Regions from separate parts of the Homo sapiens genome. Here region 2 is linked to region 1. The links are contacts of gene promoters, found by promoter capture Hi-C in human tissues and cell types (Jung and others, 2019). All regions are on one chromosome and are shown on one strand. Each heading gives the region's core, a stretch centred on a gene start or on the middle of the fragment in contact. The rest is flanking DNA. Distances are from core to core; before and after follow the strand shown. Region 1 holds the start of RNF222 (ring finger protein 222). Region 2 overlaps LOC105371525 (a long non-coding RNA gene).

What was found. Contacts are between HindIII fragments. The study calls those that stand out against the background at their distance.
Region 2: a contact is called between a fragment that was not itself captured here and the fragment with the promoter of RNF222 in region 1, in 1 of the 25 tissues and cell types used here (lymphoblastoid cells).

The regions. Positions count from the first base shown.
Region 1 is chr17:8,395,310-8,402,317 of GRCh38, reverse strand. RNF222 (ring finger protein 222) reads left to right here and starts at 4,491. Exons shown (of 3, transcript NM_001146684.3): 1 at 4,491-4,623. The HindIII fragment of the contact is 8,302 bases long and covers 1-7,008 here.
Region 2 is chr17:8,695,743-8,702,750 of GRCh38, reverse strand. The region is part of intron 2 of LOC105371525 (a long non-coding RNA gene); the gene reads right to left. Among named protein-coding and RNA genes, the nearest start is that of CCDC42, 46 kb to the left of the region's middle. RefSeq lists enhancers at 5,066-5,360, 5,181-5,690, 5,691-6,201. The HindIII fragment of the contact is 7,889 bases long and covers 1-6,979 here.

The DNA.
Region 1 (7,008 bases), core at 3,242-5,741:
GTTTTTCCAACATGTGTTATGAAAATTTCCAAACATAGAGCAAAGATGAAAGAATTTTACAAGAATCCATACATCCACCACCTAGATTCCACCATTAGCATGCACTATTCTTACATTATCATATATCTATCCATCCATCTATCCAATTATTAAAAATAAGTACAGTGTACTTTCTTGGGCCTCTCCCAAGACCGGCAAGTCATGAGTGGGGCCTGGAAATCAGTTTCTGTAATCTGTTCTCCAGGTGATTCTGGCATTAGGAACTTCTGTCCTGGTCCAGCTACTCACCCCTTGCAGAAACCACACCTGCAGTTAGTCAGTGGTCAGCGGGGGTGGGATTCTTCCCTTGTCTAAAAGCCCCTTAGCCTCACAAAAATGTCTCTCTAAGGAAGATCTTATGTCACTGGGCCAAAATGGTCTCCAGACTCTTCTCCATCCTGGCCAAGCTCTTCCCCAGGACACGCTTTGGTGCCTCATCAACACCACTTCCAATGTGGCCCCAGAACTAGACAAAACTCTACAGCATGACCTGCCCAGGGAAGGGACCCCTGGTCTCGTCCGTCCCTGAGCTGGAACCATTCTTCCATGGTTCAGCGTGCATTTGTCCTTTCTGCTGAGAAGGGGAGAACACTCCAAAATGACATGGCAGTATTTGCAACAGACACCTTATTCACTAAATCAGGACAAGATTGCCCAGGACCCTTGAGTCAGAAAGTGTTTGCATCTCCTTACCCACCTTTAGCCTTCTCTTCTTGCCATAATAATAATAAGGATGATTTCGATGATAATCGATACAGAGAGATAAATGAAGAAATATATTTATATATATATTAGATAGACGAAGAGATTGGATAGATGATAGATAGATAGATAGATAGATAGATAGATAGATAGATAGATAGATCTATGGAGAGATTGGAGAGAGAGATTAGATGGATAGATGGATGGATGGATGGATGGATGGATGGATGGATGGATGGATTAATTGATAGACTAATGGAGAGATAGATAGGTAGATACATAGATACACAGAGATGGATCAGTGGAGAGATTAGGTAGATAGATCAATGGAGAGATAGATTGATTGAAAGATAGATGATTGATTGATGGAGAGATTACATGGATGGATCAATGGAGAGATAGAGATTAGATAGAGAGATGGATAGATGGACAGATGGACGGATGGATCAATGGATAGGTTGATTGATGGATAGATGGAGAGGATAGAGAGAGAGAGATTAGATAGATCAATAGATACATAGATCAATTGAGATAGGTGGATCAATGGAGAAACCAGATAGACAGATGAATTGATTGACTGATAGACAGATAGACAGACATATAGATAGAAAACACTGACAGAGCCCCTCCTGTGTAGCAGGTGTTGTTCCAGGCACATTACTTGCATTCATTCATTTTATTGTCACAACAACCCTATAGAGTAGGTACTATTATCCCCATTTTCTACAGATGAAGCAACTGAGGCGCAGTTTCTACAGATGAAGCAACTGAGGCACGGAAGGATTAAGTAACCTACCCAAAGGCACATGGCATTTTCTCTTTAGTCACCAACACACATAAACACACATAGAGCACTCGTGAATGCTCATGCACTGGTCTAATTTCCCAGAGCTCCCTACCATCAAGTCCTATAGTGTAGTTCCTCCTGGCTAGTATACTTGTGCTCTCAACCTTTGCTGATAACTAATTCCTTCTTCCTGCCAAAATCCAACAGTCCACTTTCCCAGAAACTTGCTAGATGGCTAGAGCTGACCTGAAAAATAAATTCAAGTTAAAGTGTCTCTGGCTGATGCATTTACCTCCTCAGGTAAATGTGTGTGTCCGTGCCAACATATATAAGTATACACAATTTTTTAAGTGGAATTCTTTTTCTTTTTCTTTTCTTTTTTTTTTTTTTTTTTTTTTTTTTGAGACAGAGTTTTACTCTGTCGCCGAGGCTGGAGTGCAGTGGCGCCATCTCAGCTCACTGCAACCTCCACCTCCCGAGTTCAAGCGATTCTCCTGCCTCAGTCTCCCGAGTAGCTGGGACTACAGGCACATGCCACCGTGCTCGGCTAATTTTTTCTATTTTTAGTAGAGATGGGGTTTCACCGTGTTAGCCAGGATGGTCTTGATCTCCTGACTTCATTATCCACCTGCCTCAGCCTCCCAAAGTGCTGGGATTACAGGCTTGAGCCACTGTGCCAGGCCAGAATTCTTTTTTTAGAACACAAACCAAGACAGACAATGATAATAAATATTTACATATTAAAGGTAATTTTCATAGTCAAGCTTCATGACAGGGCCAGTGGAAAAGATATTGGTGCCTTAGGAACTTTATATCACCCCATAAATCACATCACAAAAGTCTAAGGATGGCCGGGCCTGGCTCCGTCTCCTCTCTGGGGGACACACAAGGGCTTGATACTGAGGTATTTGGGGCACCTTTTCAGGAATCCCCAGAAAGCCCTAGGCAGAGTCATGAGCCACATTGTTGAAGGGGCTTAGAACTTTGCAATGCGCCCCTTGGAGATGCCAGTGGAAGGAGAGAAATTTGGAGAGCCCTCTGGGATTAGACTTGCTGGATGAAAATACAGAATGCCCACTTAAATTTGAGTCTCAGATAGAAAAGGAATACTCTTTAGTATAAATATGTCCCAGAGGGCCGCCACAGTGGCTCACGCCTGTAATCCCAGCACTTTGGGAGGCCAAGGTGGGCAGATCACCTAAAGTCAGGAGTTCAAAACCAGCCTTGCCAACATGGCGAAACCCCATCTCTACTAAAAATACAAAAAAATTACTGGGGTGTGGTGGTGCACACCTATAACCCCAGCTACTTGAGAGGCTGAGGCAGGAGAATCGCTTGAACCCAGGAAGTGGAGGTTGCAGTGAGCCGAGCTTGTGGCCACTGCACTCCAGCCTGGGTGACAGATCGAGACTCTGTCTCAGAAAAAAAAAAATCCCAGATATTGTACTGTATTGTACTGGACATATTTATACCAAAAAGCATTCGTTGTTTGTCTGAAATTCTAATTTACCTGGGCATACTGCATTTTCATTTGCTAATCTAGGACCACCTGGAACTCCCAGGGAAAGAACAAGAGAGACTGTGACGACGGCTTGCACTCACGGATCTCTGTCCATGGTGAAGTGGCCGAGTGCACTGGCCTGACTGTCCTCCCCACCAGCTTCAAGGTGTCCATTAAGCCAGGGCCATGACTGATCGGACAGAAGAGGGGTCATCCTGTGTCATCCTATGGGGTCACACACATGCTGGGCTGTGCCTTGGACCCAGTAACTTACTTTTTCAGAAGAAAACTGGTTTCTTGGGGACCTCCTGAGAGGACTGGGAGGGAATCCTCCAAAATGATTTCCAGTTCCCCGAACTTCATTCCTCCATTATTCTTGATGACTTTTTCTTTTTCTTTGAGACAGTCTCACTCTGTCATCCAGGCTGGAGTGCAGTGGTGCAATCTTGGCTCACTCACTGCAACCTCCACCTTCTGGATTCAAGCAATTCTTGTGCCTCAGCCTCCCGAGTAGCTGAGACTACAGGCTTGCACCACCTTGCCCAGCTAATTTTTGTATTTTTAGTAGCAACAGGGTTTCACCATGTTGGCAAGGCTGGTCTCGAACTCCTGGCCTCAAGCAGTCTGCCCGCCTCAACCTCCCAAAGTGCTGAGATTACAGGCATGAGCCACCATACCCAGTGGATGACTTTTTCTCTAATCACAAAAGAAACATACATTCAGGGTGAAAATGCAAACATCACAGAAATATAAAACTTAGAAAGTCTCTCCAGAGATAACTGCTATTAACAGTCTGATGTGTTTTCTTCCAGCTTTTCCTCTATGAATATGATCATGTATTATTATCTTCATAAATAGAATTGTATTACACAGGCTGTTCTGAAAGTTGCTTCCATTTATCATGATGCCGGGGACTTCTTTCCATATCTGTGTGCATTCCTGCTTCACTGGTCTTACTCGCCTCGTTCTTTATGCCAGTGGTGCTGGGTCTTTGGAGTTCTAAGCGCCTTTGGGTGTTCCATGAATGACAAATGCACACAGGCAGATCCCACAAATATATGACTCTGAGTGTCATAGACTTCCCGAGGCTGATCTACTACTGACCCCTTCACCCTGTGCATGGTGTGAGGATAGGGGTGTGGGGGGAAGATGGGGATCACAGAAATGGGTCCAGGAGGGTGGGAAGGACAGTGTGGGTGACTTTCCTATTGATAGGGAGACCCATGCCTGGGGAGCCTCAGTCAAAGGGGTCCTGGGTCACTGCCTCCACTGTGAGACCCTCTGACTCTCCTGAGCACCCACCCCTGGGCTCCTCCTCAAGCTGGGGGTTCCTCTCCTGGCATCCTCAGCAAGATCACCTGACTCCAGCAGCTGCCAACCCCCTGGGCAACGCCAAAGCCTCCTGGCCTCAAACGGGTTGGGCGACATTCACTTCCTCGCGCTGTCCTCCCGACCTGCTCTGTCATTAGGAATTGCCTCGGCGGTGGCGGTCACACTAACAGCAACAGGAGGAGATCGTGCTGCTGCTCAGCACCTCGGGGTGGCTCAGATCTGCTGGAGGCCCCAGGAGGGAAGGTGGATGCTGCTCTCTCCGGTCCCAGCTAAAGTGAGTCTAGGGGCCTGGATGGGCGTGGGGAAGGAGCTTGGCAATGTTGGAAGGTTGCCAACATTGGAAGGATGCAGGAGAATGAGAGAGAGAGAAATTGAGAGAGAGAGAGAAAGAGATACCTGTGGGTGAGCAACTAGTCACAGCTAAAGCTATAGGACCTTGCACTGGGGCTCCAGGAGGGAATCCCAGGTGCCTGGAAGTATCATTCTGTCCCACTGGCTCCTGTGCTGAGGTGGGGATGGGGGGTGTTTTCTCTGGGGTGGGGACACCTGCCCCCACACTCTGTTCCGGAGATGGGCTACTGCTGTGGGGGAGGCTCAGTACTGGGGCTTCCCAAGGTCAGCTCCCTTGGGCCAGCCATTGCCTTCCCCCTGCCTCCCAGGTGGCCAGAGGGGCATCCTTGTTTAGGGTCACTCTAAACCTAAAGAGGAAGGAACTTTGGGTAGTCACTTTTCTAACAGTGCTATTTCTTCTATTCCTTTGACCAAAGTCTGAAGACAAAGTCTTAAGCTCTGAGCCTCAGGTCCCTTATCTGTAAAATGAAGATAATCCCTACGCCCCAGCCTTGTTGTCAGGATCAGAAGAGGAAGGGATGCAAAATGCCAAGCATATAATTAGGATTCAATAAATGGTCGCTGTTGTAAATAATAATAATTATTTATTATTAGCTCAATACTGGTCCCACTTCACCTAGGAATACTTTCCAGCCCTCCTCTCCCCTCAGTTTCCTAAGGCACCAACAGGGATGCTTTGGCACTTACTGCATTCTTCTTCAACTCGTTTGTGCTCAAACTAGAGTATGTTCCTTGCATTTCTTCTGTTGCCCTCTCCCTCACCCCAGCATCCAAACAGAATCATACCATAAGAGGAACTCAAGGATGGGGAATGGAATGGGATTCAGAAAGCGAGAGAGGCAGAGGGAGGGGTCAGGGAAAGACTGAGAAAGGGAGGCAAGAAGGTGGGGAAGGAGGTAGCATCGTCCAGGTGTTGACGGCGTGGCTCTCCGGAAGCACGGGACGGGGGAAGGATTGCCCAGAGAGGCCATCGTTGGAAGCGGGAAGGACTGTCCAGAGAGGCCATCATTGGAAGGGGGAAGGATTGTCCGGAGAGGCCATCGTTGTAAGAGGGAAGGATTGCCCAGAGAGGCCATTGTTGGAAGGGAGAAGGATTGCCCAGAGAGGCCATCATTGGGGCCTCGGATGTCTTCTGCACTCCCTGGGTCCTTTTTACTTTTCCTCTAACTCGGATGAAAAGTAGAGGCTCTCCTTCTCCTTCCCTGCTCGTCTCAAGGAGGACGGTGCTTTCTAACTTGGCTAATACCTACTCACCCAATCTATCAGCTGATTCTAACAATGTTCTACCATCTACGGAATCTTCTCTGTCTCGGTTAACTCCCTCTCCGTCACCTTCACCGGTCACCTCAGGTGACTCACTTCCCTCTCTCTAGACATGGATCTGCTCATCTCTGAAACTAGGAGCTTCAACTAAGTGATCTCTAAAGTCCTTTTTCCCTCTAGTATTCCTTATTTGCTCTTCTTGTCAGCCTTGGTCTCTACTTCTCAGTTATCCAAACAACTTAAACCATTGATCATCAATACTCCTTTCAAAAAAATATCTTTTTCAAGAAAACTTATAAATGTCCACTAGGCTCTAAAGTTTTATAAGAACTTCCTTGGCCACTACTTATCCCCAATATGTAAGTCAGTACCTAGCACATAGCAGGTGCTCAATAAATATGTGTCGAATAATTAGACAGATGGATGGATGGATAGAAGGATGGAACTCTTGCCATCATACACTCTGGGGAGTTATGAAATGCAGGGAAACATATTAATAGTTGATTGGCTTAAGAAAATCATGCCCATCCTGATTATAATGGCTGTTTGGTATAAACATTTGCAAATGTGTTATGAAATAACTACCAAGAAAGATTGGAATAACCATTTAAATTATTATCCATTGCCCATCACTTATCTTATCCATTGTCATCTTGTTCCGTTATTCTAATTTGAGGTGAGCTGCCCTCTGTCAAGTGGGTGCGATTTTTTAATCATCCACATACTAAGGAACATTTGGGGATGAGAGGGAAGGAAAGGAAGGCAAATGCTGTGGCTGCCTCAAGAGCTGTGACAGGGGTCTCCAAGTCCCCTTTGGGAGAAGAGGGGACAGGACATGGTCTGTCTTAATAATGACAACTGCCATTTACTGAGCACTTACTCTGAGCCAGACTCTTCACTCACATTAGCTCACTTAATTCCCCCAACAACTCTCCGAGGAAGATGATACCATTATTATCAATTTCATCTTATGGACAGGAAACTGAGACTCAGAGAGGTTAAACAACTTGGCTAAGCTTATACAGACAGTAAT
Region 2 (7,008 bases), core at 1,786-4,285, 300 kb before region 1:
AAAGGGTAACTATGTAGAAGAGGTAGATATTTAATTGGCTGTGTTGTGATCATTTCACAATCTATATCAAAACATCAAGTTGGGGGATGGGGGGCTAGGGGAGTGATAGCATGAGGAGAAATACCTAATGTAGATGACAGGTTGATGGGTGCAGCAAACCTCCATGGCACATATGTAACAAACCTATGTATACCTATGTAACAAACCTGCACATTCTGCACATATATCCCAGAACTTAAAGTATAATAAAAAATATTATTTAAATAAAACTATTGTTTAGAGTTAAATCAAGTTGTACAGCTTAAATATGTACAATTTTTAAATGTCAATGCTATATAAGTAGAGCTTTTGAAAAGAAAGAAAAGACAGAAAGAGAGACAAAGAAGAAAGAAAGAGGAAGGAAGCTCCTAGCCCAGATAGTTTCCCTGGTGAATTCTATCAAACATTTGAGAAAGAAGTTACACAAATCTTAAGCAAATTCTTTCAGAAAATAGAGCAGGAAAGAACTCTTCTCAGTTTGTTTGAGGAGGCTAGCAATAACCAGATACCAAAATCTAACAAAGATGTTACAAGTAAATAAATAGATACATAAATAAATAATGCCAAACCTCAGTATCTTAATTCAGTTAAGATCTATTTCTCCAAAGCGGATACTAGGGAAGACTGCTCATCATAGACCCTCAGAGACCAGGCTGAGGAAACTTCCATCTCAGCAGGTGCTTCCACTATGATTAAGGCAGAGACAGGGACATCGTGAATTGCAAGTTGACTCTGAAAGATTCTGTCCGGAAGTGACGTGTCATTTACTCTCATCTTCATAACCATGTCCCAAGGAGGTGAGGAAGTCCTAACATGTTCTTGGAAGCAGAGGAGAAGGAAGAGCTGTTATCACAAGGGTCACAAATGTATATATAGTAACAGAAGAGCCTAAATAACTAACACACAGCCCAGGCACATGGTGAAACCCTGTCTCTACAAAAAATACAAAAAGTAGCCCGGTGTGGTGGCATGCACCTGTTGTCCCAGCTACTCAGGAGACTGAGGTGGGAGGATCGCTTGAGCCTGGGAGGCGGAGGCTGCAGTGAGCTGAGATTGCACCACTGCACTCCAGCCTGAGTGACAGAGTGAGACCCTGTCTCAGAAAGAAAGAAAGGAACACAGACAACTGCCCACTGAGAAAGTACAGCGTGGACAGCAAGGGGGCCCTGGGCCAGCGCTTGAGGAACCCCACCAGCCTGGCAGTGGACCTGAGCTGGCGAAGGAGGCTGAAACGGGGCAACAGAGAGAAAGAGGCGAAACATCTGGTGAGTTCAATGAGAAACTTGACCATCTGTGTCTAGTGTGATTGTGGGTCATGCAAGGTGAGGACTGGAACAACTAGGATGTCACTGGCACCGCAGCAAGACTTACGTCAATGGAGTGATGGAGAGGAACCCAGAATGGAATGAGCAAGAACTGAGTGAGGGGAAGAGACGAAAATGGGGAATGTGGAAAAACCTTTCCAGAAGCTGGTCGTGAAGGGAAGGAAGGCAGTAACTGGAGAAGGTCTTGTGTTGGAGAGGGTTGGTTGGTTTGTTCTTTCAGTGGGAGAGACCTGAAATGTTTAAATGTTGATGGGAAGGGTCTGGTTTGGAGGAAGCGGTTAAATATAGAAGAGAAGCGAGTCACCCATAGTATAAGGCTCCTGGAAGCTGGAGGCTGAAAGTTGACAGTGAAGAATGCCATGAGGTGGAATGGGGAGGCCATGGCAAGTGCCACATCTTAGCAGGTGCGTAGTGAGAAAAGACACAGCCCCTGAGAGACAGGCTGAGACTCACTGGTCCCTGGGGCCACTTCCGCTCTGACTTCCAGTTCCAGTTCTGGTTCTTCTGCGTGTCCTTACAACAACCTCCTTTTTCCCGACGATATGTGTTCATTCAACAAATATTTATGGGCCACCTACTACATGCTAAGCCCAGTCCTGACAGCTGCAGAGAGGGCAGTCAGCAAGACCGATGCCCGTCCCTACCCTCAGAATCTTTTCTTGCATCCGACGAAGCTGAGTGACCAATCCCTTTGGCAATACAGATGCCCTCCATTTGGATTGGTTTATGAGAGAGCAACAAATAGAGGCAACAGATATGAGGGTCAGAAGATAGTGCACTTCCCATAACAGGAAGGGGGCTCTTGGACACAGCTCCTCTTCTGGAAGGTCTTGGGGGCTTTGTTGCGGGGAGGTGTCCAGATGTGTCTCTGGGGTAACTGGATGCAGAGATTCGCTCTCTGCTGTGAAGGTGCTGAGATAGGCACGTGCCTGTGCTGAATCCTATACAAAGAAAGCGAAAGAAACCAACAAATTGACCCCCCCCACACACACACATAGAAGCATCTCCACTGTTTGTTTGCTGTTGCTGTTCTTTTCTTTTTTGGTGTAGAAATTGAGCACATACACAAAGGAATCTCCACTGCCCATCACTCTAGCTGCTGCTGACCTCTCCTCCAAACACTCCTATGTGCTCCATGTGTCCCATTTGACTACGAGTCACATACTTTCTCTAACATCTTAGTTTCAGCTACTCAAAACCAGCACTGATTCTGGTCTTTTCTGTTATGTGGGCCCATACATTTCTTTCTATACTTCAGTTTAAAATGAATTTTTTTGGCCAGGCATGGTGGCTCACACCTGTAATCCCAGCACTTTGGGAGACCAAGGTGGGACGATCACCAGAGGTCAGGAGTCCAAGACCAGCCTGGCCAACATGGTGAAACTCTGTCTCTACTAAAAATAAAAAAATTAGCTGGGCGTGAGGGCAGACACCTGTAATCCCAGCTACTCGGGAGGCTGAAGCAGGAGAATCACTTGAACCCAGGAGGCAGAGGTTGCAGTGAGCCAAGATCGCGCCACTGCACTCCAGCCTGGGCAACAAGAGCAAAACTTCTTCTCAATAAATAAATAAATAAATAAATAAATAAATAAATAATAAAATAAATAAAATAGAAGTTTAAATCTCTTGTAGTGAAAAGAATCTTATCTAAGAGACCCAGAGTCAAGTCCTGCCCCACCTTACCTGCCTGCCACCCTGGGCCAAGCACCCCATCAAGGACATCTCTGCCTGTATTAGTCATCTATGGCTGCATGACAAATTACCCCAAAATTTAGTGACTGCAGTGGCCAATCTCCAAGATGGCCTTAAAGACCCTCACCTCCTGGAACTGGTGCCCTTGCATAGTCTCCTCCCTGATGGTATCACAGTAGCTCTGAACAGAATACAACGGAAGTGACTGTGCGGCTGCCAAGGGTGGGTCATAAAAGACAGTGCACCTGCCCTTCACTTGCCCTAAGCATGTCCCACTGCATTGCATTGGGATTTCCAAACGAATACACAGGCACGTCCCTGGCCTAGCCCTGAGGAGCCAAGGAGGTGGAAGCAAAGCCTCGGCTGAGTCCTAAAATATGATCCTCCCCTCTGAATGCACAGGGAACACAGGTCTCTGAGGCATGTGCCATGAAGGACACTCACCCTTCAGAACAGGCTTTCGAACCCTCCAGGATGCCAGGGAACACATCTGATCAATGTATCCACACTAAAGCGGAGCATCAGACAGATCCCCAGGCCCTATCTCCCTCCTGGACCACACTGGAGGGCTTTCTCAGGGACCTCCTGCAGCCAATGCCCACCACTGTGGTCAGCTAAAGGAGGAGCCACAGTTCCCGCGGGCGAGGCGTGAGGGGACACACATCCGAGCTGAGCCTTGGATGGGGGAGGCTGGGCTCTAGACTCTGTGCTTCGCCCCCCACTCCCACCACCTCTGCTGACCAGCTGTCTCCGCTGCTGTCTGTGTCTTCCCCTTGCGGAGAGCCCAGAGCATTCTCCAGCTCCCTTTCCATCAACAGCCTCCTGGCTCTCCCGCCCACGCACTTCCCACTTCCACTCCTCCTCTCCCCTTCCTGGCTGAGTGCCCTCCCCCAGGCCTGCCGTCTCTCCCTGGTTCTCATTTGAACATCATTTTTCTTCTTTTCTTCCCTTTTGCTAAATGTCCTTGCTTATGTGATGTGGCATTGAGTATACATTTCCGGGCATATTCGTGTGTGTGTGTGCGCGCGCGCGCGCGTGCACACGTGCCTGACCTGACCCATGCTCCGCGGTGGTGGACTGAGCTGTGAGATAGAAGGCTGGGAGCTGGGAGTGGGAGATGGTGACAGAGACCCAGTCCCTTTAACATCTCCTAGAAAAAGGCTCCATGCTCTGGCCCCTGTTTACCTCCAGCCTCACGTCTCTCCACACCTGGAGGCACTCAGCCCCATCTGGTCTCTCTCCCCCGCTTTCTCTCCTCAGCCCGGGGTTTCCGGTTCTAATCCCCATCCATCATTAGGCTAACTACTGCTTGTTCTTTAAGATTCAGCTCAAGTGTCGCCTCCTCCCAGAAGCTTCCTTGAGCCCTTGTGTCTGGCTGGATGCCCCGTATGGCAGCAGTCCATTGCCTCATCCAGGACACGCTGCGTGAGAGCCAGGATCTGCTCTATACTGTCACCTTCCTCTGGCCTCCTGCACAATGTCTGGCCCAGAGTGGGAGCTCCCTTGCAGGGTGGTGCACGCAGCCATGCATCAGGTGTGGATGCTGGGGACAAGGCAGAGCAGAAGAAAGGAAGAAAGAAAGTTTGGGGAGAGAAAAATTGTGTGTGTGTGTGTGTGTGTGTGTGTGTGTGTAAATTTTATTCTATTTTGTTCCCCCAGATAAGCTATGTGGACTGAACATTTTTCCTGGCAGGTTAAGGTTCAAGGGAATTTAAGGGATGTTGGGGGCCATGTGATCTTTGGGATTGGGGGTGGACAGAACCCCAGTGGGACTATGCCCCCCACCTCCTACCCACATACATACTGGCGCCACACTAGGCTGCTTTCTGGAAAGAATGTGAGTTATCACTTAGTTTCTAATCTTCCTGGTTTAAGGCCAGAGGCAAATACATTGGCAGCTCAGGCCCTCGCTAATTATCCTCCCCACCCCAAACAAACGTTGGGGTGAACGGGTGAAGGGATGGCAGCCCCGCCCCCAGCTCCCTGCTCCCCCAGTCAATCTCTGAGCCCCTTTGGTTTCCGGAGCAAAGTTGCGGGGCAGAAGGCTGGGAGAGAGGCTGGAAGGGGCTCGAGCCAGGCAGGCTGCATGCTCCAGGGGCTGACGCAATTGGGGAATTTGACTTCTTTTTATCACATATATCATTTTGCCATATATGGTCACCGAGAGCTACTGGCAGCGAGGCCCAGGTCCAGATGGTGGGCTCCTAGAGTGAAATGAGCTACATACCAGCCCAGAACAAACAGACCATCGCTCACTCCGCTGGACAGGTGGGTGGGCCAAGGGAGGGGTTATATATAGTTCTGGTCACATTCCTTCACTCATGCATCTTGGCCCCCAATTCACAAACAATCTCCATTTCTGGCCCTTTTTACTGAATTTGCTAATTGCTATTCTTCTATAACCAAGGGAACGAAAAAAAATCCCAGAAGGAATGTGGGGGTAGAGACACGCAGGCCCTCCTGTCCCTGCCTTGATCCGCAGCCCTTCCGCTCCTCCCCCACCTTTGCCTTCCTCCCTGGCAGGTCCCTGAAGTCTTTCCCCTCCTCACCACCCCCAGAGGGGCCTCTGCTGCTGACTCTCCTTCTTTCTCCCCTCGCCAACGCCCCCGCTCTTTCCTGCACCCCTTCAGCCCAGGTGAGCTGCCCAGGTGCAGACCAGCCCCTGAGGCTGAGCAAGACTCCAAGAAGTGTGGAGTCACCACAGACAACATCCCCCAGCTCCCAGAACCTTTCCTTGCCAATGGTTAGAGGCTCACCCTTCCCAGCTGCCCCAACCAAGCAAGAGATGCTCTCTCCAGCCTTCCCAGGGTGCAGTCACACCTGGCCTGAAGGTAGCAAAAATGGCAACACAGGAATCCAGCCCCTGAGATGTTAACAGACTCAGATAAATATTGTTGATCCCCAGAAACCCCACCAGAAACTCTCCTCTGAGCCCCTGGGCCATCTCCCACACACTGTCAGGAATTTACTTTCTATTTCTAGCCTGAGGCAGTCAGGATTTCCCAGGCTTACACCTCCAGCCCAGACCCTCCCCTGAGCGCCAAACTTACTCATCAGAGGTGACACTGTTGACCCACCAGGGCGGCGGTGCAAGCCTCAAATATAAACCAATTGGACAGGGTTTAGAGTAGTTCTCGAGTGGTAGGGGCAAGCTTGGGGATGCTCGCAGGAGCAGCTGCACCTCCGACGTCCCAGGCAAGGTAGGCCACCAGCCTCTCCCATGATGTCCTGAAACCATCCTCAGAGAAACCACACTCTGGGCAACATACGGCTTTGGTGACCGCTGTCTTCTAATTCACTCCACATAACAGGAATGGTTCTTCCAGCATTGCACTCCCTGTCCCTCTAGCACAGGGGGACTCAACCCCCACTACACAGGAGAAACACAAGGGAGCTTTTCAGTAAGACTGGTGTCTGAGCCCAGTCCAGAAATTCTTATGTCGTGATCTCAGGCAAGGATATAACACGTATCCCAGGTGATTCTGGTGTGTGCAGACCAGACTGACTCTTTCTGGATTGTCTGACCTGAGACCACCAGCTCCTGATTCCCCAACCTGGGGCATTCTCCGGTCTCCTAAGTAAACCCACTGGCCAGAGTGCTAAAAGGGTCTCTTGTTGGAGGATTAGGATGAGCCTTGGCCTGGGAGTTGGAACCCTAACTCCTGCCTGGCTCTGTCCTGAATGACCAGGGGCCCTGCTATTCATGCTTCTGATTTCTTTTCTTTCTTTTGAGACAGAGTCTCACACTATTGCCCAGGCTGGAGTGCAGTGGCACAATCTCGGCTCACTGCAACGTCCGCCTCCCAGGCTCAAATGATTCTCCTACCTCAGGCTCCAGAGTAGCGGAGATTACAGGCAACCATCACCACCACGACTGGCTAATTTTTGTATTTTCAGTAGAGACAAGGTTTCACCATGTTGGCCAGGCTGGTCTTGAACTCCTGACCTCAGG